2 separate regions of the Homo sapiens genome follow, and region 1 is linked to region 2. The links are contacts of gene promoters, found by promoter capture Hi-C in human tissues and cell types (Jung and others, 2019). All regions are on one chromosome and are shown on one strand. The core of a region is centred on a gene start or on the middle of the fragment in contact, and the rest is flanking DNA. Distances in the headings are between cores, read along the strand shown.

What was found. The method cuts DNA at HindIII sites, captures the fragments that hold promoters and counts their contacts. A contact is called where the count stands out against the background at its distance.
Region 1: the fragment with the promoter of WDR74 here is called in contact with the fragment with the promoter of CYB561A3 in region 2 in 1 of the 25 tissues and cell types used here (stomach).

The regions. Positions count from the first base shown.
Region 1 is chr11:62,838,104-62,841,263 of GRCh38, reverse strand. It overlaps WDR74 (WD repeat domain 74), which reads left to right and starts at 1,674. Exons shown (of 11, transcript NM_001369450.1): 1 at 1,674-1,757; 2 at 1,836-1,942; 3 at 2,029-2,150. The coding sequence starts at 1,694. RefSeq lists enhancers at 481-650, 1,281-1,420, 1,491-1,830, 1,891-2,010, 2,121-2,250 and 1 more and a silencer at 301-350. The HindIII fragment of the contact is 7,487 bases long and covers 1-3,160 here.
Region 2 is chr11:61,360,359-61,363,773 of GRCh38, reverse strand. CYB561A3 (cytochrome b561 family member A3) reads left to right here and starts at 1,892. Exons shown (of 7, transcript NM_153611.6): 1 at 1,892-2,041. It overlaps TMEM138 (transmembrane protein 138), which reads right to left and starts at 1,400. Exons shown (of 5, transcript NM_016464.5): 1 at 1,354-1,400. RefSeq lists enhancers at 1,382-1,871, 1,282-2,003, 2,122-2,341. The HindIII fragment of the contact is 8,596 bases long and covers 1-3,415 here.

The sequences.
Region 1 (3,160 bases), core at 425-2,924, 1.5 Mb before region 2:
CTCACTGCAACATCCGCCTCCCGGGTTCATGCGATTCTCCTGCATCAGCCTCCCGAGTGGCTGGGACTACAGGCGCCCGCCACCACGCCCAGCGAATTTTTATACTTTTAATAGAGACGGGGTTTCACCATGTTGGCCAGGGTGGTCTCCATCTCTTGACCTTGTGATCCGCCCGCTTCAGCCTCCCAAAGTGCTGGGAATACAGGCGTGAGCCACCGCGCCCGGCCTGTTTTGTATTTTTAGTGGAGACAGGGTTTCACAACGTGTTAACCAGGATGGTCTCGATCTCCTGAGCTCGTGATCCGCCCGCCTCGGCCTCCCAAAGTGGTGGGATTACAGGCGTGAGCCACCGCGCCCGGCCTGGTTTCGCGTTTGATGTGTTAAACCTAGGTCGCGCTCGGGGTTTCAAGCGTGAAATCCTAGCACTTCGGGAGGTTGGGGCGGGCGGATTGGGTAATTCCAGCCTGACTAACATGGTGTGAAAAATCCCGTCTTCACTAAAAAACCAAAAGAAAAGTGAATCAGGCCTGGTGGCGGGCGCTCTAGCCTGAGAGACAGAGCAAGATTCCATCTCAAAAAATAAATAAATCTTCGCGTTAGATAAAGGGTTTACTTGTAAACTGGTAATTTGTTGCTTTTCTGTGTTAATCTCTAGGTAAAGTAGCGACTTCCCTCTCCTATTTACGCATGCGCTATTACTGTATTTCTACTGAGCGATGACTTTCTCTGCGTTTCTCATGTAGCATAGCACAGAGTACTTTTAGTTGTTTTTGTTTTTTTTTTTTGAGACGGAGTCTCTGACGCCCAGGCTGGAGTGCAGTGGCGCAATCTCGGCTCACTGCAAGCTCCTCCTCCCGGGTTCACGCCATTCTCCTGCCTCAGCCTCCGGAGTAGCTGGGACTACAGGCGCCCGCCACCACGCCCGGCTAGTTTTGTTTTTGTATGTTTAGTAGAGACGGGGATTCACCGTGTTAGCCAAGATGGTCTCGATCTCCTGACCTCATGATCCGCCCGCCTCGGCCTCCCAAAGTGCTGGGATTACAGGCGTGAGCCACCGCGCCTCGCTGTCCGCCTCTTGAAGAGTAAACGAGGCCGGGCGCGGTGGTTTAGTAATACCAGCTGTAATCCCAGCTACTTGGGAGGCTGAGGCAGAAGAATCGCTTGAACCCGGGAGGCGGAGGTTGAGGTGAGAGGAGATCGCGCCATTGCACTCCAGCCTGGGCAACAAGGGCGAAGTTCTCTCAAAAGAAAAAAAAAATCGTCGGTTTCCTTTTCCCATCTTTCTTTCGTGACTTATATTCCAGAACGAAGCCCCACACATCATTAATGATTTGAATCGTTTCTAAAGTGTTTCTTAAATCGTTTCTTAAATCGTTTGTTGTTTCTTGTCTAACAGTCCAGAACACATATTACATAATGGAGCCGGGAGACAGACTAGGGCTGGCTTGATCCGGCCACGCAGTCCAGGAAAGGTGCTTTTCACCCCCAAGTGCAAAATGATCAATGTATTCTTCCGATCTACATAAACAAGCACCTCCTGGTTTCATTTTCGTAAAGCAAAACAAGCATGGAAGCTTTACTGTTTCGGCTCTTCAAACTTCCAGCAACTACACTGCGCTGCATCGGACTCGACGCCCGCTGGTGACGCACACGCTGCGCCGGAAGTGTGAACTGTCTGCCTCCAGGCTTTGTCATGGCGGCTGCTGCTGCACGCTGGAACCATGTGTGGGTCGGCACCGAGACTGGGATCTTGAAAGGTGGGTGGCAGGCTCGGGCGTCGGGAAGTGCAGGGGTGCACTCGCGCCCCTGGCGTGACTGACGCCTTCGTCTCTCAGGGGTAAATCTTCAGCGAAAACAGGCGGCGAACTTCACGGCCGGAGGACAGCCGCGGCGCGAGGAGGCAGTGAGCGCCCTGTGTTGGGGCACCGGCGGCGAGACCCAGGTGAGTGGCCCCTGGTCGGGCCGGAGCTGGGGGCCTGGGGCGCAGCAGCCTCGCTCTCCTCGCCATCTTGCCCTTCTTTGCCGCAGATGCTGGTGGGCTGCGCGGACAGGACGGTGAAGCACTTCAGCACCGAGGATGGCATATTCCAGGGTCAGAGACACTGCCCGGGCGGGGAGGGCATGTTCCGTGGCCTCGCCCAGGCCGACGGGTAAGACCAATCCCCTCGCTAAACTCAGGGCCGAAGGGAGAGCGTTGATGCTCCCTGAGGATACTGGAATGATGGCGACAGGCAAACTCTTAGTGACACGGCTTTGAATGGGTGACAGGGACCTGGGTTTCTGCCTTATGTAGTTCATACCTGTAACACACATTTATTGAACACCTACTGAATTCCAGGCACTGGGAGAAGTACAGGGGCTGCCGGTAAAATTTCTGCCTTCAAAAAGTTCTCATCCTCTAAGGTTTTTCACCTGACTCCATTATAATCCTCTAAGTAACCATGGGCAAGTCATTTAATAGTTTTGTGTGTGTGTGTGTTTGTTTTTTGTTTTTTTTTTTTTTGGAGACGGAGTTTTCGCTCTTGTTGCCCAGGCTGGAGTGCAGTGGCGCGATCTCGGCTCACTGCAACCTCCGCCTCCCGGGTTCAAGCGATACTCCTGCCTCAGCCTCCCAAGTACCTGGGATTACAGGCGTCTGCCACCACGCGCGGCTATTTTTGTATCTTTAGTAGAGACGGGGTTTCACCGTATTGGCTAGGCTGGTCTCGAACTCCTGACCTCAGGTGATCCACCTGCCTCGGACTCCCAAAGTGCTGGGATTACAGGCGTGAGCCACTGTGCCTGCTTGTCATTTAATAGTTTTAAGCAAGGCTGGGTGTGGTGGCTCATGCCTGTCATCCCAGCACTTTGGAAGGCCGAGATAGGTGGATCACTTGAGGTCAGGAGTTCAAGACCAGCCTGGCCAGCACGGTAAAACCCCTTCTCTACTAAAAAAATACAAAAATTATCCGGGTGTGGTGGCTCATGCCTGTAATCCCAGCTACTTGGGAGGCCGAGGCTGGAGAATCGCTTGAATCCGTCCCGCAGAGGTTGCAGTGAGCAGAGATCGCACCAGTGCACTCCAGTCTGTGAAACAGAGCAAGACTCCATCTCAAAAAAAACAACAAAAAAAGTTTTAAGCATGCATTCATTAATTCATTATTAATTCATTTATATTTTT
Region 2 (3,415 bases), core at 643-3,142:
ATGCAGGCTGCACGGGTCCACAGTCTGTGCTCTTAACTACTGGACTAAGCTGTCTCTTACATAATTGATAGACTAGTATTTAACTAGGCAGGAAAAATGCCAGCAAAGAAGTGTGAAGTGCCCTAGGCAGAAAAAGCAGAGAGGAAACAGGGGTCTCCTGGAAAGCTTTATCTTTAGGGTTATGGTTGCAACACAGTGGCAGTTGTTTCTTTTCATCTATTCCAAGACCCACAAGTTGCTCTGGGGGTGTCCTATGACCCGCTGCTGTGCCAAATCTATAAAGAAATTTCAAAATGCTCTGGAGTGTTAGCGATTAAATTAGCATCGGTAAAATGTTTTGCAATTTATAAGCTCTTTTCATATTTCTAACCTTACGTAATCCTACAACCATCTTGAGAAGTAGCCATTACAATGTATATTATCCCCATTTTACACAGAGGCTCCGGAAGGTTAAGGCACCTCCTCCACCTCAGCTGGTGAAGTCCCACCTTATTGGACATATGTTCGCGGTTTCCTCATTCATTAAATTTTAGAGAGAGAGAGAGTGTCTCGCTCTGTCGCCAGGCTGGAGTGCAGTGGCATGATCTTGGCTCACTGCAACCTCCGCCTCTCGGGTTCAAGCGATTCTCCTGCCTCAGCCTCCCAAGTAGCTGGGACTACAGGTGCGTGCCACCACGCCTGGCTAATTTTTTGTATTTTTAGTAGAGACGGGGTTTCACCATGTTAGCCAGGATGGTCTCGATCTCCTGACCTCGTGATCCTCCCGCCTCGGCCTCCCAAAGTGCTGGGATTACAGGCGTGAGCCACTGCGCCCGGCCGCATTAAATAACACTGATAGCTACTACCTAGGTACTCACACCACGATAAACTTGTCAACCAAGATCGTTTCCTTTAATCCTCCCTACAAGTCTGCAAGGTGGGAATTATTCCTATTCTACAGGAAAGGACACAGAAGTCAGAGCTCAAGGCATTCCTCCAGGTCTCAAGTCAGCAGAACCCGGCTTCATAACTGTGACGCCAAACCCGTGCTCTTAACCACTACTCATAGGCCACCATCCAGGGCTGTTTTGAGGATCCGTTATGCAGAAACGCCCATGCCTGTCTCTACGTACGACGATCCCCTCCAGTTTAGGGCAGTGGAGACTCACAAGCTCATGAAGCTCTTTAATTCGTCCACCGCTACCTGCCGCCTTCCCTTTGTACCTAGGGCAGTATTCCTCACGCTTCCCAATCCACTTAAAAACGAGGCTTCCTTGGCAAACAACAACAAAGCATAAAACCCAAGCCCAAAACAACAGCACCAAAAATTCTGACTTCTGGTCACTTAACCCACTCCTCGTCAATCACTCTCACCTCCAAACTCCAACGTCGGTTGTCATGCGGACATCGTCCCGGCTTCCGGAAGCCGGCTTTAAATTCCGGAAGTAAATGGAGGAGGCGGGCCCCGTCTGCGCCGTGCGGCCTGCTAGTCCCCGGCTTTCTCTTCCCGCTCTATGGCCAGTCTGGCCGCCATGTTGGAGCTTTCGCTGTTCGGGGCCCGGCCTGCTCCGGGCCCTCCCAGCGTCGCCGCTAGCTGACTTAGGGCTCCCGCCCACACTGCGCACGGCCTTGCTGAGGGCCGGCTCGTAGTGGGAGGCTTCGCGTTCACCTGAACATTTCCGCCTCCTCTGGATGGGGGATGAGAGGCGGGGCTGATGCATCGCAGCAGTCCTGGACCCTGACTTCGGACTTGGAGAAGAAACGCCGAGGAGGAACGGGAGTTAGGGGGTTAGCAGCTTGGCGCGCTGGGAGCCGGCCACCCCTGGTCTCCGGACTTCACTTCCCAGGAGGCCTCGCGCGCGACTGGAAGTGCTGCGAGCCTATAAGAAGGCGAGGCGGCACCCGCCGCTCTGCTCTGGGGCGGCATTGCCAGCCGGCTGTAGGCATTCAGGGCAGTGTCTTCTGCATCTCCTAGGAACCTCGGGAGCGGCAGCTCCGGCGCCTGGTAGCGAGAGGCGGGTTCCGGAGATCCCGGCCTCACTTCGTCCCACTGTGGTTAGGGGTGAGAAGGATCCCGGGGCTGGGAGTTCAGGGACCTGGGTTCGAATGCTGGTTCCGCTGCTATCTCGCTTCGCACTGTCGCGATCCCCTTGCTCGGCCTCAATTTTCTCTTTTAGAAAGTGGGCACCTTTCTCCGCGCTCTTCCTTCCAACGCGGTGGTTATAAAGGCACGAAAGCTCTTCAGAGGACGCAGAAAGCACCTGGAGCTCCTCACCCCAATTTTCACCCATTGTTAGCTGGCACGAGCACCCAGCAGAGGAGTCAGGGATCACCCCTCGGGTGCCTGGAACGGTTCTTTGGACACCTGAGCCGGACCTAGGCACAGCCTGAAGTCGGGGTCTATAATTATTCCGGTGCTAAGGGGTAACTTGTTCACCTACCTCCTTGGCAGGAATATTGAGCCCTTCACTCCTCATGTTCCGACTTTAACAGAAGCTACCTTTGAGAATAAGGAATCCTCAGAGCTGAGAGGGAGTGGACCCGAATTCCTGTACCAGCTCGGCCACTTACCTTGGCTAAGTCATTTTCTTGTTTTGGGCCCCAGTGTCACAGTGTTTTTGATTTGTAAGATGAGGGTTTAGGGCTTGTATCCTAAATCTGGTCCTCAAGATTCTTGAAGTCCCCCAGTCCATCGGGGAGGGAGAGCAACAAACTGATTTTCTACCCCTTCATTTATTTGTAGTTCTAAATTATAAAAGTAACACTGCAAGAGTTTGGAGTAGAGCCTTTTTCTTTTTCTTTCTTTTTTTTTTTTCTGAGACAGAGTCTCACTCTGTCGCCCAGGCTGGAATGCAGTGGCACGATCTCGGCTCACTGCAACCTCCGCCTCCCGGGTTCAAGCGATTCCCCTGCCTCAGCCTCCCAAGTAGCTGGGATTACAGGCGCCCGCTACCGCGCCCGGCTAATTTTTGTATTTTTAGTAGAGACGGGGTTTCTCCATGTTGGTCAGGCTGGTCTCGAACTCCTGACCTCATGTGATCCGCCCGCCTCGGCTTCCCAAAGTGCTGGGATTACAGGCGTGAGCTACCGCGCCCAGCCTGCGTAGAGCCTTTTTCTAAGACTAAGGGCTGGATGGGAACTAGCATTTCTTACCCCTGGATGTGACCTGTTTTAGCTCAGCCGGGAGAATCCTTTTTCGCAAGAAGTTAATAATATCTTGTGACGTGAAAATTATGTGAAACTCAGACTTCAGTGTCCATAAATAAATATTACTGGAACACAGCCGTGGTGCTCATTTGTTAAGATGTTTATGTGGCTGCTCTTGCATGGGCAGAGTTGATGACATAGTTGTGACAGACCATGTGCTCTACAAAGCCTAGAATATTTACTACCTGGACCTTTACAGAAGAGCTTGCTGACTGCTCCCTTAGAATGG